Linked DNA regions of Homo sapiens: all the other regions are linked to region 1. Evidence: promoter capture Hi-C in human tissues and cell types (Jung and others, 2019). All regions are on one chromosome and are shown on one strand. The core of a region is centred on a gene start or on the middle of the fragment in contact, and the rest is flanking DNA. Distances in the headings are between cores, read along the strand shown. Region 1 holds the start of MORN3 (MORN repeat containing 3). Region 2 holds the start of PSMD9 (proteasome 26S subunit, non-ATPase 9). Region 3 overlaps KDM2B (lysine demethylase 2B).

Region 1 (4,514 bases), core at 580-3,079:
TAGGGTACCTGCTACTGGTTTTCTATTTATAATAATGATACGTAAAGTCTCCATTCTTCTAATTTTTTTTTTTTTTTGAGATGGAGTCTTGCTCTGTTGCCCAGGCTGGAGTGCAGTGGCGCGATCTCGGCTCATTGCAAGCTCCGCCTCCCGGGTCATGCCATTCTCCTGCCTCAGCCTCCCGAGTAGCTGGGACTACAGGCGCCCGCCACCACGCCCGGCTAATCTTTTGTATTTTTAGTAGAGACGGGGTTTCACCATGTTAGTCAGGATGGTCTCAATCTCCTGACCTCGTGATCCACCCGCCTCGGCCTCCCAAAGTGCTGGGATTACAGGCGTGAGCCACCGCGCCCAGTCTTTTTTTTTTTTTGAGACAGAGTCTCACTCTGTCTCGCCCAGGCTGGAGTGCAGTGGTGCAATCTCGGCTCACTGCAGCCTTCTCCTCCCTGGTTCAAGCGATTCTCCTGCCTCAGCCTCCCGAGTAGCTGGGATTACAGGCGCCCGCCACCACACCCAGCTAATTTTTGTATTTTTAGTACAGACAGGGTTTCGCCATGTTGGCCAGGCTGGTGTTGAACTCCTGACCTCGGGTGATCCATCCGCCTCGGCCTCCCAAAGTGCTGGGGATTACAGGCGTGAGCCACTGAGCCCGGCCTATTTTATTATTATTTTTTAAGACTGAGTCTTGCTCTGTCTCCCAACCTGTAGTGCAATGGTGCAATCTCGGCTCACTGCAACCTCCGCCTCCTGGATTCAAGCTGTTCTCATGCCTCAGCCTCCTGAGTAGCTGGGATTACAGGCGCGTACCACCAGGCCTGGCTAATTTTTGTATTTTTAGTAGAGACAAGGGTTCACCATGTTGACTAGGCTGGTCTCGAACTCCTGACCTCAGGTGATCCACCCGCCTCGGCCTCCCAAAGTGCTGGGATTACAGGCATGAGCCACTGCGCCTGGCCCTCCTTTTTTCAATATATGTATTGATTTTTTTAAAGTGAGTTAACTTATTTTTATTTTCTTCTTGAGAAAAGTTCTCACTCTGTCATCCAAGCTGGCGTGCAGCGGCATGATCTCGGCTTACTGCAACCTCTGCCAAGTGAGTTAATTTACATATAAAGATTAATAGTACATGTGATATTTGGAAATGGGAGAAGAAAAAATCCCAACGGCATAGAATTTAGGACCTGAGATTGTTTCCCCACTCCCAGCTTTTGCTCTGCCTATTTTCTTTGCCTGGAATTATTTTTCCCTACTCCTAGGTGTGATTGTCAAAATATGTAACCCATATTTTGGGTTCATATTTTGGATTCATATTTGGCTCAGTGGCTCATGCCTGTAATCCCAGCACTTGGAGAGGCTGAGGTGGATGGATCATTTGAGATCAGGAAATTGAGACCAACCTGCCCAGCATGGTGAAACCCCCGTCTCTACTAAAAATACAAAAATTAGCCAGGCGTGGTGGTGGGCGCCTGTAATACCAGCTACTTAGGAGGCTGAGGCACGAGAATCACTTGAACCCAGGAGGCAGAGGTTGTAGTAAGCCGAGATGGTGCCACTGCACTCCAGCCTGGGCAACAAAGCAAGATTCCATCTCTAAATAAATAAATAAATACATAAATAAATAAAAATATTTAGAAGACATAAAAAAAAAAATATATATATATATATATATGTATATATGACCGCCACCCCCTCCCTGGGGGCAGCTTCTCCCTGATGCCATCACAAACCCTCCTGCTCTACTGGTTTCCCTAGATTCCCAAGTAATTGTGCCATCAGACCCCCTGGGAGGGGGCCCCAGGAGAGGCAAGGGAGGGGCCAACCAAAGGTCAGTCCAGCACTAAAGGATCCCCACTAAGGGCTGTTCACCTGCCCCAGGGACTCAGAACACACATGACTCTCCCCACTTGAGCTCAGGATCCCGGCATTACACGGGGCGCGCTGAGCCCCAGATGTCCCTAACCCCTTTCCAGCACCCTCCAGCCTTGCAGAAGCAGCCACCATGCCAGTCTCTAAGTGCCCAAAAAAGTCGGAGTCCCTGTGGAAGGGGTGGGACCGGAAGGCCCAGAGGAACGGCCTGCGGAGCCAGGTATACGCTGTGAATGGCGACTACTATGTGGGCGAGTGGAAGGACAACGTGAAACACGGTGAGTGGGACTCCGGGACGGGCGGCCGGAGTGGGGTCAGAGCCACAGTGGGCAACAGGGCCAGGAAGGCAGAGTGCAGAGCTCACTGGGGACATGAGATGTGTCCCCAAGGCTCCCCCAGGGTGAGCGCTGGCCCAGGCCAGCTGGGGGCCTTCACATGCTGGGGCTTCTGAACAAACTCAGCCCTGACTTCAACTGAGTGAGGGTCTCAGGACCAGCAGTGGACAGAGGGTCTTGAGAAACTGGCCTGCCCCCGGGGCTCTGGGACCTAGGGGGCTCAGTTCCTGCCTTCTGAGACCTGGGTTAAGCACTGGGCTGGCTGGCAACAAGAAAAGCCACGCCCCTGAAGCCAGCTTGCAGTGGGGTTCTGGGCTTCGCATTCAGCTGTGATGCTCTGCAGAGGGCTGAGCGCCAGGCACAAGGGAGGACCCCCTACTCCATCCCACAAGGAGGAGCTGGGGCTCCAAGTCTGACCAGCAGGGGGCAAAGGGGTCCTGTTGATACAAACTAAATCCTGACTGGGGAAAAAAATAAAGAAAAAAGAGCTTTTATTTTAAAATGTGGCACTGCTGCTCACTCCAGTCTTGCAATTCCAGACTCTGTACTCTTTTTTTTTGAGGGGACAAGGTCTTGCTCTGTCTCAAAAAAACAGGCTGGAGTGCAGTGGTGCCTTCATAGCTCACTGCAGCCTCGAGATCCTGGGCTCAAGCAATCCTCCTGTCCAAGCCTCCTGAATTGCTGGGATTACAAGTGGGAGTCACTGTGCCTGGCTAGATTCTGTGCTCTTTTTATTTTTTTAGACGGAGTTTCACTCTTGTTGCCCACGCTGGAGTGCAATGGCACGATCTTGGCTCACCGCAACCTCTACCTCCCGAGTTCAGGCGATTCTCCTGCCTCAGCCTCCAGAGTAGCTGGGATTACAGGCATGTGCCACCACGCCTGGCTACTTTTGTATTTTTAGTAAGACGGGGTTTCTCCGTGTTGGTCAGGCTGGTCTTGAACTCCCGACCTCGAGTGATCCGCCCGCCTCGGCCTCCCAAAGTGCTGGGATTACAGGCGTTTAGCCACTGCGCCCAGCCCAATTCTGTGCTCTTAACCATCCTGCTCTCCTGCCTTGCTGGGTTAAGTGCTTTGCAGTCAAATAAACCTGGGTTAGGATCCCAGTTCCAGGCTGGGTGTGGTGGCTCACATCTGTAATCCCAGCACTTTGGGAGGCCGAGGCAGGCAGATCACCTGAGGTCAGGAGTTCAAGACCACCTTGGCCAATATGGTGAAATCCCATCTCTACTAAAAAAATACAAAAATGGGCCAGGTGGGGCTGGGCGTGGTGGATCACGCCTGTAATCCCAGCACTTTGGGAAGCCGAGGCGGGCGGATCATGAGGTCAGGAGATTGAGACCATCCTGGCTAACACAGTGAAACCCTGTCTCTACTAAAAATACAAAAAATTAGCTGGCTGTGGTAGTGGGCGCCTGTAGTCCCAGCTACTCGGGAGGCTGAGGCAGGAGAATGGCGTGAACCCAGGAGGCGGAGCTTGCAGTGAACCGAGATCTCGCCACTGCACTCCAGCCTGGGCGACAGAGCAAGACTCCGTCTCCAAAAAAAAAAGAAAAAAAAAAAGACTTGGAGGAGAGGGAGTAACTGAGTGGATGTTTGCAGGAACTAGCATAGAAGGTGGCAGGACCAGCTGGAGCAGAGAATATACCTGGGGTGTTCAAGGAACAGCCAGGAGGACGGTGTGGGTGAAACAGAGTGAGGAAGAGGAGGAGGTCAGAGAGGTTGCAGGCCGGGGACAGTGGCTCACACCTGTAATCCCAGCACTTTGAGAGGCCGAGGCAGGCAGATCACTTGAGGTCAGGAGTTCAACACCAGGCTGGCCAACATGGCAAAACCCCATCTCTACTAAAAATACAAAAAATTAGCTGGATCGAGTGGTGAACGCCTGTAATCCCAGCCACTAGGGAGGCTGAGGCAGGAGAATTGCTTGAACCCAGGAGGTGGAGGTTACAGTGAGCCAATATCATGCCACTGCACTCCAGCCTGGGTGCCAGAGCAAGACTCTGCCTCAAGATAAACAGTCCTGGCGCGGTCGCTTATGCCTGAAATCCCAGCACTTTGGGAGGCCGAGACAGGCATATCGCCTGAGGTCAGGAGTTCGAGACCAGCCTAGCCAACATGGTGAAACTCCGTCTCTACTAAAAATACAAAAATTAGACCAGACATGATGGCAGGCACCTGTAATCCCAGCTACTTGGGAGGCTGAGATAAGAGAATTGCTTGAACCTGGGAGGAGGAGGTTACAGTGAGCTGAGATTGCGCCATTGCACTCCAGCCAGGGAGTTTCCAAGAACGAATCTCCATCTCAAAAAA
Region 2 (4,514 bases), core at 1,011-3,510, 220 kb before region 1:
TCGAGACCATCCTGGCCTCAGGTGATCCACCCACCTTGGCCTCCCAAAGTGCTGGGATTACAGGCGTGAGCCACCAGGCCCGGCCCAAACCCACTTTTTAAAAACAAATATAGAGCACGGTTTCAGGCTGAAAGCTTTCAGCAAGCAACAGCAGCTAGCCAGAAGCAACCAACATGCCGTATCAACATGCAAAGCATCTGACCTTATATTTAAGAGAAGAGATTATCATTTTCCATATGCAGCGGAGTTTTGAAATTTCCTTTTAAAATACATTTATGGGCAAGGCACTGTGGCTCATGCCTGTAACCCCAACACTTTGGGAGGCAGAGGCAGGAGGACTGCTTGAGCCCAGGAGTTTCAGACCAGTCTGAGCAAGCAACATAGTGAGACCCCATAGCTACAAAAAATACAAAAATTAGCTGGGCGTGGTGGCACGTACCTGCAGTCTCAGCTACTTGGGAGGCTGAGGTGGGAGGATTGCTTGACACCAGGAGATTGAGGCTGCAGTGAACCAAGATGGTGCCACTGAACTCCAGCCTGGGCAACAGAGCGAGACCCTGTCTCAATAATAATAATAACAATAATAATACATTTATATAAGATTAAAAGTAGATCTATTTAAATAAAAATATCAAAGGAATAACACAAGTGGTATATGCATATAGTATACTGCATGTGGTAGAAAGTAAACTAAAGTTTGAGAAATTGCTGGTAATTTGCTTGAAAGCACAGGTTCTGAATGTAACAGACCTGAAGTCTGAATCCCACTTTGAGCATATAGTCAGCACCCAGTAAAATGGTTCTCTGGCCCTCCGTATGAAACTTCATCTTATGGCCGGACGCGGTGGCTCACGCCTGTAATCCCAGCACTTGGGGAGGCCAAGGTGGGCGGATCACCTGAGGTCAGGAATCCAACACCGGCCTGACCAACATGGTGAAACCCTGCTTTTACTTAAAATAAAAAATTAGCCTGGCGTACTGGCGCTCGCCTGTAATCCCTACTACTCGGGAGGCTGAGGCAGGAGAATCACTTGAACCCAGGAGGCAGAGGCTGCAGTGAGCCGAGATTGAGCCACTGCACTCCAGCCTGGGTGACAAAGCAAGACTCCGTCTCAGACAAAAAAAAAAGAAACTTCATCTTACATCACCTAAAATGCATTCCATCCCACCCTACTTGGGCATAATTAATTGCATCTTCCTCTGCAAACTGATCTGTGATTTTACACTAGATGGCATAAGAAAACCTGCATCAGCTTTTGAGCCAGACCCACCACTGCCACTTCCGAACTACATGACCTTAGATAGGCGTTTGCCCCACTCTGGGCCTCAGTTTCCTCCTTATGCAATAAGGATGATGAGCCTTATTTGTAACTCAAAGTTCGGTCCTTAGACCACTAGCATCAGCATTGCTGGGAGTTTGCTACAAATGCAGAATCTGCTCCCTTGCCTCAAACAAAATCTGCATTTTAATAAGATCCCCAGGTAATTCATATACACACTGAAGTTTAAGAATTCACGATACAATCAGCAAATGCCGGGTGCAGTAGCTCACGCCTGTAATCCCAGCACTTTGAAAGGCCGAGGTGGAAGGATCGCTTGAGGCCATGAGTTCGATACCAACCTGGGCAACACAGTGAGACTCTGTCTTTACAAAAAGTACAAAATTAAGATAAGGCAGTCAGCGAGGCACATGACAGCTGTTTAATCACCAAGTAACACCTGTTTCCCCCTCCCTAAAATGGAAAGAGTAACAGCATCCACCTCAAAGGGTTGTTGCAAAGATTAAATTAACTCAACAATGCACAGCACTTAAACCAGCGCCTAGCACACAGCAGGGCTCCACAAACTCTTGCTGGATATCAATATGGCTAACTCTTCAGTTGCTAAAGTTCTTTGCCTGCCTTCTTGTGCCGACAGAGGCCGCACTTGCGGCGCCTTGGGCCTCCCAGGGAGATCCGTTGCGGAGCGCCCAAACTGAGGCCGCCCTGGCATCCCAGTACCCCAGGGACTCCGGGCCGGGTTAGGCGACTTGGGGCGCCCCGAACCCACACTCACGCTTTCCAGCACGTCATAGTTGGCCTTGATCTGCGCTTCTATCTCCTCCTTGCGCCGCATCAGCTCCTGGACGTCGCTGACAGTCACGACGCCGGCCTGCGAGGAGCCTCCGCTCTGCCTCGCTTCCTCGTCGGACATCGTGAACCCCGGGCCGCGACTCCAGAGACCCGGCTCCCGGGCTAGGGACGACGCCCCAGTCGACCGTAACTACGGCTCCGCCCATGCGCCAAAACACCACAGCCGTCCGCGAACGCGAGAACAGTCAAGGGGCGGGGCTTGGGATGGGGCTTAGGGCGGAGCTGGGTCACCGGAAGCCGCGCCCTGCCGGAACACGTGCGCCTGTGGTGACCCGGCAGGAGTAGCGTCGGAAGCAATGGATCCCCACGCAATTGCACACCAACGCTAGGGGATGATCTCGCCCCAGCTGACTCATTTTCTCATTCGTGCAGCAGACATTTATTGAGCGCCTACTGTATGGATGGATACTGTACGCCAGAGAACCGCTGCGTGGCGCTCCAATTCAGTTCTTCACATCCACACAGCCCTGGAGGATTTACAAAATACATTAAGGTTCCTTATCCCTCACTTTACAGATCCGATATGCCTGAGTACACACCCCGTATCTTGCCACTTAACGGCAATCTGTGTGACCCTAGGTCACTACTTGGCTTCTCTGGGCCTCAGTTTCCTCATCTGTAAAATGGGGCAGTAATTGATAGCAATCTATCTCATAGAGCTGTCCTTCTGCTAACAAATATTCATGGAATGATTCCTATGAGCCATATACTGTTGAAGGTGCTGGATGTTCCTGTTAAGGCCTCTAAAAATCGTAGTGATAATAATAACGGTAACAGTGTTTATTTATTGATACTTATAATGTGCCAGACGCTGTTCTAAATGCCTTACATATATTAATTCAACAACCTCATGAAGCTAGATTATTACATCCCAATTTGACAGCTGAGAAAACCGTCTCAATAACCAATTTACCCAACTAGCAAAATGTGAGGCCAAAATTCCAACCCAGCTTACCTAAACAATCAACTTTGATATCTGACCATGTGCCTCTAATATTTTGTCTTGAAAAGGGCTCAGCGGTCATCTGTGTAGTATTCAAACATGTTTGCCCTGAATCTAATCATTGGAAAACAGACATATCCAAAAGAAGGGACATACTTCAAAACAACTGGCCTGAAAACTTCAAAAAAAGTCAATGTTGTGAAATACACATGGGGAATAAGGGGTGGGGGACAGAGAAAGGAGGCGGATATGCAATTGCCTAGATTTAAGAACACTAAAGATGTGCATCAACTAAATGCAATGGGCCAGGTGTGGTGGCTCATGCCTATAATCCCAGCACTTTGGGAGGCTGTGGCAAGCAGATCATTTGAGGTCAGGAGTTTGAGACTAGCCTCGCCAACATGGTGAAACCCTGTCTCTACCAAAAATATAAAATATTAGCCGGGTGTGGTGGCACACACCTGTAATCCCAGGTACTCAGGAGGCTGAGGTCTCGAACCCCTGGCCTCAAGTGATCCAGCCCAGCTCGGCCTTTCAAAGTGCTGGGATTACAGGAGTGAGCTACCGCACCCCTCAAAAATAAACTAACATTTCTAACATTATCGAGAGAGAGAGAGAGAGAAATACAGGTGCAGTGGCTCATACCTGTAGTCCCATTATGCTGGGAGATCAAGGCAGGAGGATCCCTTAGGTCCAGGAGTTTGAGACTAGCCTGGGCAACATAGCAAGACCTCCATCTCTACAAAAAAAAAAAAATAATAATTAATTAGCAGAGGACCAGGTGTGGTGATTCACACCTGTAATCCCAGCACTTTGGGAGGCTGAGGTGGGTGGATCACTTGAGGTCAGGAGTTCAAGACCAGCCTGGCCAACATGGTGAAACACCGTCTCTACTAAAAATACAAAAGTTACCAAGGCACAGTGCCACACACTTGTAATCCCAGCTACCTGGGAGGCTGACGCAGGAGAATCGCTTGAACCGGGGAGGCAGAGGTTGCAATGAGCTGAGATCATGTCACTGCACTCCAGCCTGAGTGACCGAGTGAGACTCTGTCTCAAATAAATAAATAAATAATAAAGTTAAAAAGGGAGGAAGAGAGAAATAATGACTAAATGCAATACATGATCCTTACTTGAATTATTTAATGAGAAACAGCAGCTTTACAAGACTTATTGGGCCAACTGGTGAAATCTAAATATGAACTTTATATTAAATTATAGTATATCAGTGTTAAATTTCCTCAGTCAGATAATGGTGTTGCAATTATATGAGAGAATCACTTTTATCTTTATTGGAACGAGATAAATGCTCAATTATTTAGATGTGTAGTGTCATGATTTCTGCTACTAACTTGCAAGTGGTCCGAAGAAAGTGATACAAGGGGAGAAAGAGGCAAAATGTAACAATTAGCAAATCCACGTGAAGAGTATAAGCATGT
Region 3 (4,514 bases), core at 656-3,155, 200 kb after region 1:
AATTTGTATTGTATATATAGTCCAGCACACTATTAATACAAAACAGATATTGGATAATTGTGTGCACCAGTTAACTATAGGAAATTTGCTTTAGGGAAATAGAGAAGAAGCATTTTGCAAGTGTCAAAAGAGGAATTTGTAAGAGGTGTCAGGACAGTGGCCTTCCTAGTGTTTGGAGGGAACCCACTACGTTATCATGTCCTAACCATGGCCTCCCGGTTCCACAGTTGGCCCTTGCCAGATCAGACAGCAACCTGGCTATCCAAACCATACCTACCCACCTTGGAATTGGATTTGAACTGAGAATACAGAATTAATAGCATGTAGTAAGGGACACTTAATTTTCTTCTGCTTCAGCCTGAGTTTGTCACCAGCCTCATTTGGCATCCTCCTCGTCTCTGGCATGAAGCATTGGAGCGGTGCAGTTGAGAGCCCAGGCTCCAGTTGCCTACAGAGTCAGATCCAGGTCCTTTCCCTTCCTCGCGGCAATGCGCCTCAGTCTCCTCATCTGTCAAGTACCCACCTTATGGGGCTGTTTAAAGGAATAAGTGAGATCATGTCTACAGCAGACTTACCACTGGTCTGGCCCTTTGAACATGCTTAAAGCTGCTGTTATTGCCTGGGCCCTTGGAGGGAGGTCTTTCTCTGGATGGTATTATATAAGAGACTCTGGTCTTGAAAGCCACTCCCTAATTTTCTTTGGGCCTTCATTTCCTCACCTGTGAAGTGAAGGGGTCAGGAGAGACCCCCTTCTATCTCTGAAATGATATAAAGGGAGGAAGGGAGTTTGTGTTAGCGGCAACTTTTTTGTTTGTCCGCACTTTTCCTTTCCGCTCTTTGAGCCATGATAGTTGAGAATTGTGTTTTTTTACTTCCTTAAATTCAGAAGTGAGCTTTTGAGAGTCCTCAAAGGAAATCAACCTCAAGATAATTCTTTTGCTCCTGATTGGTAATGGGAAAAACCTTTGAGAAGAATTCCTGCTTACAGACATCTCTCTCTCTCTCCTTTTTTTTTTTTTTTGAGACAGAATATCACTCTGTTGCCCAGGCTGGAGGGCAGTGGCACGATCTCCGCCCACTGCAACCTCTGCCTGCTGGGTTCAAGTGATTCTTGTGCCTCAGCCTCCTGAGCAGCTGGGATCACAGGTGTGTGCTACCATGACCTGTTAATTTTTGTATTTTTAGTAGAGACGGGGCTTCACTCTGTTGGCCAGGCTAGTCTTGAACTCCTAACCTCAAGCAATCCACCCTCCTCAGTCTCCCAAAGTGCTGGGATTACAGGTGTGAGCCACCGTGCCTGGCCTAGACATTTCTCTTGATGTATTATGTTATTTGGGTGACTCTATACCCCTGTAGGCTTGACCAATCACAATGAAGTGGAAGCATGATTGGCATGTTATGAGCCCCTCCTCTTTCTTTAGAGGCTCCTACTGAGTAGAGTGGCCAGCAAGAGGTCAGATACAAACTTCAGACAACAAGGTAGCCTTTTTTTTTTTTTTTGAGATGGAGTCTCGCTCTGTCGCCCAGGCTGGAGTGCAGTGGCACAATCTTGGCCCACTGCAACCTCTGCCTCCCAGGTTTAAGTGATTCTCCTGCCTCAGCACCCCCACGTAGCTGGGATTACAGGTGCGCACCACCACACCGAGCTAATTTTTGTATTTTTAGTAGACACTGGGTTTCACCATGTTGGCCAGGCTGGTCTTGAATTCTTGACCTCAGGTGATTCACCCTCCTCAGCCTCCCAAAAGTGCTGGGATTACAGGCGTGAGCCACCGCGCCCAGCCATCAAGGTAGCTTTTAAAAAGCTGAGACCTTTGGGAATGGAGTGATGTGGGGTGGGGTGGGGGGGTTAGGGTGTATTCTTTTGCTTGTTGTTTCTGTTGCAACTTTGAGAAGATTCTGAAAAATAAGAGGGGAGTGATGGCCGGGCATGGTGGCTCATGCCTGTAATCCCAGCACTTTGGGAGGCTGAGGTGGGTGGATCACTTGAGGCTAGGAGCTCCAGACCAGCCTGGCCAACATGGTGAGACCCCCCTCTTTACTAAAAATACAAAAATTAGCTGGGCGTGGTAGCGCCCACCTGTAATCCCAGCTACTCTGGAGGCTGAGGCACACGAATCGATTGAACCCAGGAGGTGGAGGTTGCAGTGAGCCGAGATCCACTGCACTCCAGCCTGGGCGACAGAGTGAGAGTCTGTCTCAAAAAAAGGAGAGTAAGGAAGGAAACTCAGAACAGATACGTTTCGGCAAAGAGCAAGTCGACTGGGATTTTTTCTATAGTGGGTGTGTAAATTTCAGACTTTAAAATCCACTCAGTAAAACTGACATCCCTGCTTATTCACTTTTGCCGACTCTGCTAGAAGCCTCCTGAGTTTTGTTTACAAGGTCTCCGGCACACAGCCTGCCTTCTTTGAAAGGCCAGGCCAGGACCAGCCTGCCCATCCCTTCTGTTCTCACTGGATTTCGTGGCCAGTGGCCTGGACGTGACTAACAGATGGCCATTGCAGAGCTGATCACCTGATTTCATGGCTTATTCTTGGGAAAGCCTCTGATCTTTTTACAGAAGGTTATCCATCCCTTGGTAAATCCTTCCCCTTGTATAGATGGAGAAACTGAACAGGTACAGGTGTGCATATTTAGTGTTACCTTGGACAGGTGGATGATATGTATGCCAAGTCCTCCTTAGCTTGTGTTTAGCTTTGGTTTTGATGCTTATAACAGCTTTGGTCGTTCTAGCTCATGGTCATGAGCTCTTTCAGAGAGGCTGCTGGCTTAAGTGCCCGATAGACTTTTTTTTTGAATGAATGAAGATCTATCTGGATTTCTAGCAACACTTTTCTTCAGGAGTGGGCTGCAGCTGGAGTGAGCACTAGGAACCTTTGCAGCTTAAGAATTCAGAAACCCACACCTCCCCAGCCAGCCTAAGGGGCAGCCAGTCTCCTAGGAGAGCTGGGTTCTGGCCTGCGACGTCCTCCACCTTTCGGAGGTCAACTCAGAAGGCGGTACCTGTCCAAGGGAGGGGGCGCCCACCTCAGGGTAGAGTCAGGGCGTTCTGACAGCCCCCGTCAGGCGACTCGAGTGGAACTCCCGCCTGCACTACTTGACCCTGCAAAGGCGAACCCGAGTGCCGGAGGTGCAGCGCCAGGAGGCCGGCCCAGCCCAACCGCCCGCGTCGGGGGAGACTGGGCTCTCAGAGCTTATCCAGGCCAGCGGTCCTGCAGGCTCTGGGTCGGGGGTTCCCGGGTTCGTGCGCTTCAGGTCCTGGTCCTGCAGCGAGTGCAAACCCGGCAGCCCGTGTGCCTGCTGCAAGGGACCTGGGGACCCGCTCCTGGCGTCGGGTGCAGAGTCGTCCCCCACGGCCCGGGCGCCCCCGGGCTTCCGCGAGACGCCCCACGGGACCACACAAAGGACCCCACCCCAGGCCGGGCGCGCATTTCCTGTTGCAGCGGTGGCGGCGTGCAGCCACCCATGTGCATCCCGCGGCGCGCGGGCCAGGCCGGGCCGGGCGGGGCGCGGGGCACGCCCCCACGCAGCCCCAGTCCCCGCGCTCCGGCCGCGAGGGACCGCCCTCGGCGGCCCGCCCCCGTGTCACCGCAGGCCGGGCTCCCTTTGTGTGCGGCCCCAGCGCCGCGGCCGCGCCATTGGCCCGCCCGCCCGGGGGGCCAGCCCCTTCCTGGCTCGCCTCATGCATATGCATGGCGCCCCGGCCCTCCCCCGCCGGCCCCTCCCCGCCCCCTCCAGCGCGGGCGTGCGAGGCGCGCGGCGCGGCTCCCTCCTCGCGGCAGCGGGAGCCCGAGCCCGAGCCCGAGCCCGAGCCAGGGCGAGCCGAGCCTGCTCCGGGCGGGCGGCGGCGGCGGCGCCGCTCCAGCCATGTCAGCGCGCGCGAGCCTGGGCCCACCATGAGCCATGGCCATGTCCGTGAGCGCCGAGGACGACGACTATGAATCGGAGCCGGACCAGGTCGGCGGCCCGGGGTGGGGCTGAGGGAGGGACCCGCCGCACGACCTCCCGACCGCCTGTCTGACGCGCCGAGGGCGGCCGCGACGCCGCCGCCGCCGCGATGAGGAGAAAGTTTTGCTGCCGCTGCCGGCGGGGCGGCCGGGGCCGGGCCCGAGCGGGGCGTAGAGGAGCGCGGCAGGCCCGCAGCCGGCCCGGGCAGGGGGCGTGTGCGGCCGAGCGAGCGCACTGGGGGCCATCGGGCACCGCGGGGACAATGTGGGCCGCCGGGCCTCGCCGTCGGGCGGGCCTGCCGGGCGCCGGCCACGGCCCGGGGCAAGTTGCCGGCGGCCGCGGGGCGCGCCGCGCCCTCCCCCGGCGCCCTCGCCCGCGGCCCACGCGCGTGCCGGCTGCCCCGGGAGCACCCGGACCCCGCGGGCGCCGGCACCTCCTGCCTCTGCGTTCGCAAAGTTGTGCCAGGACCCTCGGCTTCGGGGCTGGAGCGCTCCCGGGGCCCGTGGGCCCGACGGCCCGAGCTTTTGTCTGGGCGCCGCGCGCCCGCCGCCCGCCGTGGGCAG

Evidence for each region. Contacts are between HindIII fragments. The study calls those that stand out against the background at their distance.
Region 2: the fragment with the promoter of PSMD9 here is called in contact with the fragment with the promoter of MORN3 in region 1 in 1 of the 25 tissues and cell types used here (adrenal gland).
Region 3: a fragment that was not itself captured here is called in contact with the fragment with the promoter of MORN3 in region 1 in 1 of the 25 tissues and cell types used here (spleen).

The regions. Positions count from the first base shown.
Region 1 is chr12:121,666,969-121,671,482 of GRCh38, reverse strand. MORN3 (MORN repeat containing 3) reads left to right here and starts at 1,829. Exons shown (of 6, transcript NM_173855.5): 1 at 1,829-2,144. The coding sequence starts at 2,000. All of the region lies in intron 1 of LOC105370034 (a long non-coding RNA gene), which reads right to left. The HindIII fragment of the contact is 82,615 bases long and covers 1-4,514 here.
Region 2 is chr12:121,886,536-121,891,049 of GRCh38, reverse strand. PSMD9 (proteasome 26S subunit, non-ATPase 9) reads right to left here and starts at 2,260. Exons shown (of 6, transcript NM_002813.7): 1 at 2,056-2,260. The coding sequence starts at 2,193. It also overlaps a transcript of HPD not described here. RefSeq lists enhancers at 1,376-1,989, 1,957-2,356, 1,990-2,603. The HindIII fragment of the contact is 23,703 bases long and covers 1-4,514 here.
Region 3 is chr12:121,466,604-121,471,117 of GRCh38, reverse strand. The region is part of intron 12 of KDM2B (lysine demethylase 2B); the gene reads left to right. Among named protein-coding and RNA genes, the nearest start is that of MIR7107, 25 kb to the right of the region's middle. RefSeq lists silencers at 3,312-4,121, 4,402-4,451. The HindIII fragment of the contact is 5,841 bases long and covers 1-4,514 here.